Linked DNA regions of Homo sapiens: region 2 is linked to region 1. The links are contacts of gene promoters, found by promoter capture Hi-C in blood cells and fetal thymus (Javierre and others, 2016). All regions are on one chromosome and are shown on one strand. The core of a region is centred on a gene start or on the middle of the fragment in contact, and the rest is flanking DNA. Distances in the headings are between cores, read along the strand shown.

Evidence for each region. Contacts are between HindIII fragments. The CHiCAGO score rates a contact against its expected background, and 5 or more counts as called.
Region 2: a fragment that was not itself captured here is called in contact with the fragment with the promoter of RNF17 in region 1 in 1 of 17 cell types (megakaryocytes); the score reaches 5.0 in megakaryocytes.

Annotation. Positions count from the first base shown.
Region 1 is chr13:24,762,222-24,768,058 of GRCh38, reverse strand. It overlaps RNF17 (ring finger protein 17), which reads right to left and starts at 3,890. Exons shown (of 36, transcript NM_031277.3): 1 at 3,726-3,890; 2 at 693-787. The coding sequence starts at 3,855. The HindIII fragment of the contact is 5,895 bases long and covers 1-5,139 here.
Region 2 is chr13:24,993,790-24,999,722 of GRCh38, reverse strand. No RefSeq gene overlaps it. Among named protein-coding and RNA genes, the nearest start is that of CPAP, 74 kb to the right of the region's middle. The HindIII fragment of the contact is 1,652 bases long and covers 3,739-5,390 here.

The DNA.
Region 1 (5,837 bases), core at 2,641-5,140:
ATGACACACAAAGGTTGAGGGGCAGGGGGGGAGTTCAAAATGTGGTTGCATGGATTGGTGGGTAAAACAGGGGCTAGGGTTTTTAAAGGAATATACACCATTAAAATAAACAAAAGACATAATTTTCCACAGAAGTCACCAAAGAATCAAAATATGTAGGCCGATAAGTGTATGACTTTAGCGCCTTTTATTTTTCCTGATCACTTTACACAATTATAAAATGGATAGAAAAAGTTTTATCTTTTGTTAGGTTTCTTTGCTTAAAGATTCAGCAGCAAAAATGCAAGATTTTAGGGTTTTTTTTTTTTTTTTGAGATGGAGTCTTGCTCTGTCGCCAGACTGGAGTGCAGTGGTGCAATCTTGGCTCACTGCAGCCTCCACCTCCCAGGTTCAAGCGATTCTCCTGCTTCAGGCTACCGAGCAGCTGGGACTACAGGTGTGCACCACTAGGTCCAGCAAATTTTTGTATTTTTAGTAGAGACGGGGTTTCCCCATGTTGGCCAAGGTGGTCTTGATCTCTTGATCTCGTGATCTGCCCGCCTCAGCCTCCAAAAGTGCTGGGATTACAGGCGTCAGCCACCACGCCCGGCCAACTTTTTAGTTTCTAACTAGAAGTACGTTTTACTACTGTAGTATTTTTACCATTAACATTAGGTTGTGATATGTTTCATCTGAAAAATTATAACACTTACCTCACAATCAGGGCATATAATTGTGGTGCATTCTTCAGTCATTAACAAGCATAGTTCACAAAAAGCATGTCCACATTGAAGTTCACAATGGTGACCTATTGATGAAATTCTTAATTATTATTTTGATGATGATGATGATTATTGAGACAGGGTCTTGCTCTGTTGCCCAAGCTGGAGTGTAGTGGCACCAGCTCACTGCAGCCTCCACCTCTTGGGCTCAAGTGATCCTCCTACCTCAGCCTCCCAAGTAGCTGGGACTATAGGTGTGTCCCAACACACCCGGCTAATTTTACTGAAGAAATTCTATTGTGATTAAACTGCCCACAGTGTGTTAATGTTGAATGGGCAATACTGATACAAGGGAAATTCAAAGAGGATCCTACTGTACAGGAAAAGATACCTACTACAGTTTGAAATGGTTGACTTATTGAATATAAATCAGGAGTAACCAACTATTCAGGTCAGGAGGGAGAAAAATCAAGAAGAAAAACCAAGAAGAGCTATGTAATAGCATTTGCATTAATTCAGATGGCTATTTTGTACCTAGAATACTTTGAATCTGCCATATCTTACACAAAGTGCTCTGACACATTTTATTTGTTATTTGTAAATATCACAGTTAAGTGGGCTGGAGATGAAATAGCATTTTGGAGATTTGGTTAACTAAATGGTATAATCCAGACTCCTATCTAGCTCTGTTTCCAAGTCTAACATTCTTTCTGATTGATCATACTGCCCTCTACTACTTTATATTTCCCATCCTGTGAAGAGGTCAGGAAGGGCCAAAATGAGACACTGGCAAGACCGTGCTGTTAGAATTATTTAAGACACTGGCAAGGCCAGAAGCCAGATGCTACTATTATCACATATCTACAACTCACATTTTCACAAACTTAGCATTTATGAAAGGAAATATCGTAACTTGATTGAAAACCTAACATCATGATTAAATGCTCTAAGAATTTGAAGTTTATAATAAATAACATTTGTTTTAGCTATATAATTTCAAAAGGTTGTCATTTTTAAAGTTTTGCAAGAAAACTGAAAAGGGAAAAAAACTAGATAAAAATCAGTCATCTTTTACTAGCAAAATAATTATAGAGTTCTTGCTGAATTATAATCGCATTAATTTTATTTATTTATTTATTCATCCATTCATTCACTCATTCTGAGACGGACCACGATCTCGGTTCACTGCCAACTCTGCCTCCTGAGTTCATGCTATTCTCCTGCCTCGGCCTCCGGAGTAGCTGAGATTACAGGTGTGCGTCAGCACGCCTAGCTAATTTTTTTGTATTTTTAGTAGAGATGGGATTTCACCATGTTGCCTAGGCTGGTCTTGATCTCCCGACCTCAAGTGATCCGCCCACCTCGGCCTCCCAAAGTGCTGGGACTATAGGCGTGAGCCACTGTGCCCGGCCTTGCATTAATTGTATTTTTTAAAAACTTTACAAGTTTCCTATCCAACTGAAATACCTGAAACTTGCTTACAACCATGCTAAATTTTAAAACCCTATTTAACTTCCAGGGATAATATTGCCAAAGAAATAAAAACACTTAACTATTATAAAATTTCTGATACTGAATAACTCAAAATAACTTGTGGTGAATTACAGCTTAAAAAGCACTTTCAGGATTCTATATACATAACCACTACTTCTCCAGTTTAGTTTTTCTAAGCATTATAATACTAATGTATGGAAGAAGTACTCATTTTAAAAGGTTGTGTTCTAGAACTTTATTCCGTAATTTTAATTTCATTCAAAAATGGAAATTTTCTACGTAACGGTAGCAGTGATCTAAACCCCAAGTAGGAGAAACTTGGTTCTCCACTGAAATCACAACTTTTTCTGCAGAGGCTCACATCTCACAGAGTCCATCTTGCCAAGACTGAGAAAACTGATCGAATGACCTTAACTTTGAAAGTATAAACATTAAACAGTTACGCCAGGTAATACGAATTTTCAGTAGCTCCAGGAATTGAGATTCAACAACTCAGCTGTATTAAGAGCACACTAAGGTATTTTAAGTTACATTAAAATAACTTGAACCGGCCGGGCGCGGTGGCTCACGCCTGTAATCCCAGCACTTTGGGAGGCCAAGACGGGCGGATCACGAGGTCAGGAGATCGAGACCATCCTGGCTAACACGGTGAAACCCTGTCTCTACTAAATATACAAAAAATTAGCCGGGCGTGGTGGCGGGCGCCTGTAGTCCCAGCTACTCCAGAGGCTGAGACAGGAGAATGGCGTGAACCTGGGAGGCGGAGCTTGCAGTGAGCCGAGATCGCGCCACTGCACTCCAGCCTGGGCTACAGAGCGAGACTCCAACTCAAAGAAAAAAATAATAATAAATAACTTGAACCTGTGATCACTTGAGTAGATTGTAGGTGAACAGACCAATAATAGTGCAGTGTATTTTTCCCCTCACGTATAAAGACCAACACACACACACACACACACACACACACACACACACCCCACAAGGTGCACAAAAGAAACTATCATTTTCCAAACAGTGTTTTAGGCCAGTGTGAGCCATAATGTAAAAAACAAACAAAAAAACCCCCACAGAAACAACAAAATGCTAACAACAACAACAAAATCCAAAACCATTTCACAATGGTCTACTTGTTACTCCTACAACAAAAACTACAGGAGAAAATCAAGTTTCGTTCCTTCTTGATGACAAAACAATGGGCTACATTTTATGTCTACTTTTGCATGCACCCGCTAACCTGCCTTGTGAGGAGTAGATTAAAGCCACCCGGGCCCCCATCCTCCCGGCTGGAGGGTCGGTGAGGCCTGGATGGGTAATTGGAGAAAGCCGTGACAGGCGCAGGTGCTGCCCTTAACCAACCCAAGCACTGCCCTCTTAGAGGTCGGGTGCAGCTCGCGGGAGGCCTGTGACGCAGTTTCTGGTGACACCAGGATTGGATGCAGCTGACCAAGCCTCACGCGCCCACCAGCTCACCTGGCCCCCAGCGCTCCCTCCAGGCTGCCTCCCCGCTAGGTGGGCCCTTGGGCTCCTCACCGGATGATCTGGATACCCTCCTTCCACACCTGGTGCACTGGATTTCAGCGGCACCCCAGGGCTGACTCTTCCTCCCCATTCGCTGGTAGGAAGACCTAGAAGGCCCAGTCTTCGAAGCCTCTGCCGCCATCGCTGTCTCTTTCTTCTGGAACAACCGCCGAGTGCGAGTCCCGGCGGCCCTCGCGGCAGCGACCAATCATTGGAGGCCAGCCCCTGCAGATAGCCAAACAGTGGGCCGGGAGATTAAAGCCCGCCCCCAAGCTCGCTCCTGATGGGGCTGGGGCTGTTTTCCGTTATCCTGGGAGGTACCACTCCTAGAAGGGGCGCCTTGTGGCCGTTGAGGACCGTTCGTTTTTACGTTCTACCCAAAGAGTCACCACTTTAGTGCTTTTAGTCATCACAAATTAAAATTTCGCATATTATTACTTACATTGTGAGTGACTTTATAGATAATCATTTGGATTGAAACAATCCCCTTTCCCTATTACGTGTCAGGGCCAGAAGCCCTAAACCTGTGTGCTTCGGGCATCCAGGGCTTGGCCAATAGCAGCTGGAGTGGAGAAGCTAATGAGAAGCTATCGTTGGGGTAGATTCAGTGAACGCTTTCGAATTAAGGAGTGTTCATCATTACTAACTGCTGTTGAGCCTAATAATATACAAGGCAGCGTGCCAAGAGTGGTTGGGGATGCTAAGAATTTATGAACTAGCAGGTTTCTGCTTGAGAGATACATAACTCCTTAAAAAAACCCAGTAACTTCCGCCAAAATAAGTGTTATGTACCGGACCTGTGTTAGAGACAGTAAGAATTAGCCTTCTGGGCCCGGCGCGGTGGCTCACGCCTGTAATGCCAGCACTTTGGGAGGCCAGGGCGGGCAGATCACGAGGTCAGGAGATCGAGACCATCCTGGCTAACATGGTGAAACCCTGTCTCTACTAAAAATACAAAAAAAAAAAAAAAAAAAAATTAGCCGGACGTGGCGGTGGGCGCCTGTAGTTCCAGCTACTTGGGAGGCTGAGGCAGGAGAATGGCGTGAACCTGGGAGGCGGAGCTTGCAGTGAGCCGAGATCATACCACTGCACTCCAGTCTGGGCGACAGAGCGAGACTGCGTCTCAAAAAAAAAAAAAAAAGAGTTGAAGCAACTTGTCCAAGCATAGTTCACAAAAAGCAATGAAGAAATGAAGTCAATATGGTCTACGGTGGTATGAAAACTCTTCGTAGAGGATATAGGGTTTGCACTAGACCTTACAACCTAGGTAGTACTTACAGGAGTAAACAAGAACTAAGGGATTCCAAGAATAAAGAACACATCAGCGAGGGAAGGTAGATGTGAGGGAAGGTAGATGGAAGACACAGTGACTTCTTGAGAATTTAAAGACCATTTAGCCAGAGTATGAGTTTCCTTAAAGTAAGCTTCTTTGGAGAGGTGTGTCAGGGAAGAATTTCGGAGAATCTCGAGTGTAAGGCTGAGGAGTTTGGACTTTACTCTTTAAGCAGTAGAGTGCATGAGACGTTTTGTGAGCAAGGAATGAAGTAATCTAGTAGAAAGGTGGCAGGTGTATTTCAAACAAAACACCTGGAGGTGGCACGGTTGCCTTTTGCTGCTAAGAATAAAGCCTGCCCATATTCCTCATTTTCTTTTCTCTCTACACTGTGTGTGGGTAACTAGAAACTGTGAAGTAAGTATTCTCTTGAAAGGCTCACTTCGGCTCAAAAATCTTTGTAATTTGTTGTCTTCGAGAGAAAAGTACTGCTTCCCTAAATTACCCTCATTCTACTACTCATCCAATAGTTTCCACTACTAATCCATGATGGAACTGAGTACTAATCAAGCCAATATTCTCATGTAACATGTTGACTCTTCTACAGTTTTGTGAGTATTATTCCCTATTCCCCTCATCTGGAATACCTACTGTTCACTCTTCATCAATTCATATTCTCTTTTTTTTTTTTTTTTTTTTTTTTAGAAATGGAGTCTTGCTCTGTCGCCCAGGCTGGAGTGCAATGGCGAGATCTCAGCTCACTGCAACCTTGGTCTCCGGGTTCAAGCAATTCTCCTGTCTCAGCCTCCCCAGTAACTGGGACTACAGGCGCATGCCACCACGCCCAGCTG
Region 2 (5,933 bases), core at 3,315-5,814, 230 kb before region 1:
GTTGGTTAGGTTTCTTGTTGTCTTTGTTAATACGAAAACACAACTCACATACTGGAGGAGTTGCCAATAATGATCATGGCCACCAGTGCATGGGACACCTTCTTAAGCTGCAGATAATTCTTGTGCTGGGTACACTAGCATGGTGGGCCCATGAGGGTTCTGTATTCTCTTCCAGGCTTTTCTTCTCTATTCTTGTCATGCAATTTTATGATGCTCCGGACACATTTCAAGTGCATCTTAGCCACCTTTTGAGAGTATTACCAGCTCCTGCCCCTTTGTCTAAGAGAGGAAACTACTTTGCCACTGACAGCCATTTATCACGTGATCTGGAGTTCTCCAGAAGTGTTTAAACATGTGATGTGAACTAGAGTAACTACGTATTATCCGGTTCATATTACCAATGGCTTATGTGTTCATGTTAGAATTAGGTCTTGGGTAAAAACTAGAAATAAATTGTAAAAACGCACTGATGTTTTTTATAGCGCCAGTGTAGATCAACCTGTGATCTTTCAAAATAAGAACTGACTTAAAGAACTGCCTAACATTGATGGTGAAATTACTTCTCCCTCAAAGTTTAGGTGGTTTTCTGTTTGTATGTTTGCTTTTTGCATGCTCTAATGTTTAAGGTTTATGAGGGCAAAAGTTTTAAAGGTTTGAAAATGATAAATGCCAGTATTTCAAATATGGTAATCTGGTACTATTTTTAAAGTAATTTATGTTAGGTAAATTGGGATGACTTCAGCTGCAATAAACAGAAGCCCCTGACTTAAGTGGCTTAAATAATAAGACAACTTATTATTAAGGGTGGCCCAACTGCTGATTGAGACAGCCGCTCAAAGGTTTCACTGCAGGGACCCAGCTTTTCCCATCGCTCTGTTTCACCGTCCTGAGCGTTGGCCTTGCCTCCACCCAGGCTGGCTCCTCTTGTGCTCACGTGTTGCTACAGCGGTTCCAGGTATCACATCCAGGTACAGAAACATCCAAAAGAAGGAGGCCACCGCTCCTGGTCTCCTTAATAGGAAATCAATCTCTTCTACAGGCTTTTCTGCAGAACTCCCCTCTAATCTCATTGGCCAGAAAGAAGTCACATGCCCACTTCTAAGCTAATCACAGATGCAGAAAGAGAACCGTCATAATTGGCTTAAACCAAAAAAAGGGACATAAAATGATATGGCTCCGATGATTAGAAGAACACCAGGGTCCTTGGTCTCACGCTGATTTAGAGAAAATGACACAGACACACGTGGAGTGGTTTTAAGGAGCAGAGAGCTGGTTAGGCAAGAAAGAAGGAAGGAAGAAGAGAACAGATCACCCATACAGAGACAGGGAGGGGGGAATTCAAACAAAGAGAAACCCCGTGTGCAGCGGAAAAGTGGTTGCTTATATTGGGATGTTGGAGGAGGCGGTGTCCGGTTTGCACAGGGCCCAGGGGATTGGTTTGACCAGGTGCGTCGTTTACGTAGCCCACAAAGAACCTGGCCCTCCCACCTTAGTCCTTTAATATGCAAATGTGGGTCGCCATGATGTTCTGAACACATGGTGTTATCTGGAGTTGGCCATGACACTTGGCACACATCGTGACAAGAGGAAAAAGGTGGGAATCGCCATATTAGGTGGACTGTTTCTAATGGCCTGCATTTGCATATCAAAGCTTGCCAGCTTGGCCCTTCAAGTCGTTTTTCTGTTAGAAAAGAAATGGTTTGGGGGTTGCTTTTATTAAAAGAAAAAGCCTTACCAAGAACTTCGTTTACCATCTCTATCTGCCTAAAAATTATTTCTTAATAACTCCTGTATTATTTCCCCCAAGATAAGCAAACCTAACTACTGTTAGGGGGTGTTGAACGATGATTCTTTTGGCTACTTCCCACTGAAAAGGGGCGTCATGTGGAGGAACAGCAGCTGGGCCTTCTCCTGAGGTTGATCTAATGGTTCTTGGAAGAACGGCGTGTCCATGTTTGGCTCTGCTCGCAGCACCATTTGGAGTTTGATTGCTTCTAGGCGAAAAGAGATACATTTTACAAGAAGATTTAAAATATAGGGTTAGAATATGAGCATTAAGATTACCACCGTTAGTGGGGGTCCTATAGACCTTAACTGACAATAGAGTTTGGTACCTGTTAGTTACACCAATGGATTGCAATACCGATTTGTCTGCACTAGATGTCGCTGTACATTACCAGAAACGTTAATATAAAAGTAACATTTTCCTTGAAAAATACATCCATTTCCCTCTTGACTTGCCATTAGAGAAGAACTTGCCTTAGGCCATTTTTATAACTTTCAATATGATTGGGAGAAATACATTGGGTGGCTAAAATAACTTTAGCATTAATCTTGACAATTCCTTTTCTTTATTAAATTTTTTCATGACTTTCACAGACCCTCTTACAACATACTTAAACTTTATGACTTGTCTTAAACATCCTTCATTTAAACAACCAGCCATTTCCTTCAAGGACAAGTATTTACAAAACAAAATCCTTTCTTATATAAAATTTCTTTCTTTATAACCTTTTTAAAATAACTTACAGTGCATTATATTACCAACCTTTAGTAAAAAGTCCTATTAAACTTAATGATAGCAAAACTTTTATGCTTACTTCTTATCTGTAACTATTACTCCTGCTGTAATCAAAACAACCTTGACTAAATTTCTCCTGCAATTATTAATCCTGTTATAAGGATGATAATCAGCCAAAATATTACAGCAATTAGAATTTTACAACCAGAATTCCACACTGTATAGTCCAATTGCAAATAGTGGCATGACTCTAACAATTTCCACAAGAGTGGGGTAGTAAATAATTTTCGTTTAAAACTTTACTTGCCAAGATATAACATTTCCCTTCGAGGATTTACAAGGTTACAAATGGAATCCCATGTATAATCAAAATTTCCCTGCAAATATGCATTAAAAAGAAGTTCTAATATTTGGGGGCAAATTTTGAGAGGAAAGGGCAGAAATGACAAAAAGCATCTGTTGATGTAAAGGTTGGGCTAAGATGAGGAGCCCTCACTCAGTTACTTACCTTTTATGATTTTTAGTGTAATATCTTCTATTTCTTCCTCTGGGCTGTCAGGGGTTGCTCCCTTGGCTCTTCAGGCTTTGGCTTGAGTGTGATGTATCCAGGAGTTGATTCTTGTAACTTTTACTGCCCAGAGGGTTGAAAGAAGAACAGTGTAGGGCCCTTCCCAGCTTGGCTTAGGGAAGGAAAGAGATGAGAGTTTTCACTAATGCCTAAATTCCTGGATTATATAAAGGTGGTTTTATTTCCTGGAGTTGGGCTTCTCCTAGCTGTGTTAATTCCTGTTGGAAATGAGCTAGAGAGGTTACATTCTTTTTTTTTTTTTTTTTTTTTTTTGAGATGGAGTCTTGCTCTGTCGCCCAGGCTGGAGTGCAGTGGCGCCATCTCGGCTCACTGCAAGCTCCGCCTCCCGGGTTCACGCCATTCTCCTGCCTCAGCCTCCTGAGTAGCTGGGACTGCAGGCGCCCGCCACCATGCCCGGCTAATTTTTTGTATTTTTTAGTAGAGACGGGGTTTCACCGTGTCAGCCAGGATGGTCTCGAGTTCCTGACCTCCTGATCCGCCCACCTCGGCCTCCCAAAGTGCTGGGATTACAGGCGTGAGCCACCGCGCCCGGCCGAGAGGTTACATTCTTAACCAATTTAGAGGTTCTCTGCCTGAAAACAATCTCTGAGCACATTGATAAGTTGTATCCTTTCCCAAGTGAAAAGCTTGGCGAAGGATTTTAAGGACTTTCATTGGCTGGAGGCTGGCAAATAGAGTTTGCCATCCTGACTGTAGGCATCTGAGGGCTGAAAAGTATGCGCTTGAGAAGTGCCCTATTCTATTTCTGCAGCAGAATACTGAGGTTTAATTTCTTTTATGGAGCCCTCCTAGACTAGAAAGGCTTGAAGTGTATTAGTGCCTTGAGGCTTCCTTGCCTTTGACTTAGCTGCCTGATCAGCTAATCTATTTCCTTCAGCTACCTCATCCGTTCCCTTTTGATGTTCCCTACAATACTTACCTGCTATCTCTCATGGTAGAAAAACTGAGGTTAATAATCTGCTAATTTCCTGGTGATATTTTATAAAAAACTCCATTAGTGGTAAGAAAATGCCTTTCCTTTTAAATGGCAGCATGAGCATGGAAAATCAGGAAAGCATACTTGGAGTCAGTATAGATGTTATCTACGTTTCCCTTGCTTAATTTAAGTGCTCTTGTAAGAGCTATTAGCTCAGCTAACTGAGCGCTCGTGTTTGGGGAGAGTGACTATGTACTTCTTTGCTTTACCGGCCGTTTGCTAGCTAAGAGCTCCCCCTAGAGGACAGTGATCTTGCCATATTATGTGGGATGTAAACAGTTATTTCCTAGGCTTAACTTGAAGGCTTTTCTGACTAGTAGAGCTATCATGATAATGGCTTGGAAGCATGTGTAAATAGGTCCTCCTAACTACAACTAAGGTTGAGAAAAATATTGGATTAGAGTTTTTCCTGAGATGCTACTTATGGTCATGCTATAGGAAGAGGGGAGGCCTAGATGAGAGAGGAGAAGAGAGAGAGAGACTGGCTCAAATGTTTAGAAGGAGGTCTACTTTAATTTTCTTCCTCCCTTCCTTTGTGCTGTTAACATATATTTTTACTTCCACATATTATAAACTTCACAAATTTTTGTTAGTTTTGCTTTAAATAGAAATAAGATATTTATTCAAATGAGAAAATAAAATGATTTTATATTTGTACCAGAATTACTATTTCTGGAGTTCTTTATTCCTTTGTGTAGGTCAGACTATCCATCTCTTATACTCCTTCTGCCTCAACAATTTCCTTTACTATTTCTTTTGGTTCAAGTTTGTTAATGATAAAATCTCTATTTTCTCTGAAAATAACCTTCTCTTTCCCCTTCATTTTGGAGGACAGTTTTACTAGCTACAGAATTTAGAATTTCTTTCAGCAAATTGCCTTTGGCTTTTCTGAGAAGTCATGGTCATCCTCTATTTGGTTTCCCTTTGATAACTTTATAACATGTTTTTCACCTTTGGCTGATTTTAATTTTTTTTGTTTTATTCTTGAAATTCAGTAAATTGATTATGATGTATTTTGGGTGTGTGTGTGTTTAGCCTGCTTTGGGTTGGTTGTGCTTCTTGAATCTTGATGTTTGGAAAATGTTCTGCCTTTATTCAACCACTTTTTCTGTTCCTTTCTCTATTCGCAATTCCAAAGCAACTTATAATGCATGTAAGACTGCTTGATATTGCCTCATAGGTAACTGAGGCTCTCTTTATTTTTTTGTTCAGCCTTTTCTTTGTGCTTTAGTTTGGATAGTTTCCATTGCTATGTCTTCAAGTTTTTATTTTTTATTCTGCAGTGTGTAATCTACTGCTAAGCTTATTCAGTGAAGTTTTCATTTTATATATTGTATGATTCAGCTCTACAAGTTTTGTTTCTTTTATTATGGTTTCCATTTCTCTCCCTATCATATTATCTTTAATACCTTAAACATATTTACAATTGCTGTTTTAAAGTTCTTGCATGCTAATTCCATCAATCCCTGTCATTTCTGGGTCTGCTTCCACTGACTTACTTTTATCCTGATTATGGATCATAGTTTCCTGCTTTGAACAGCATTTTTGACTGGATGTTGGACATTGTGATTATTACATTCTTAAGTGTCTGGATTTTATTTTCTTCCATTAAATTTTTTGGTTTTTTTTGAAGGCAGTTAAATTAGTTATGGAGCCCTTTGATGCTTTAGAGGCTTGTTTTTTCTTTAACATTTAAGATAAACTTTGTTAAAATAATATTAAAAGTCTGGAATAGTTCTTGCTTTAGTGCTAGTTTTGTCCTGCTTTCAAGGTATGGCCCTTGCGGGGTCTCTGCGGAATATCTCAAGTATTCATCAAGGTCTTTCCACTCTGATTGGCTATGGATG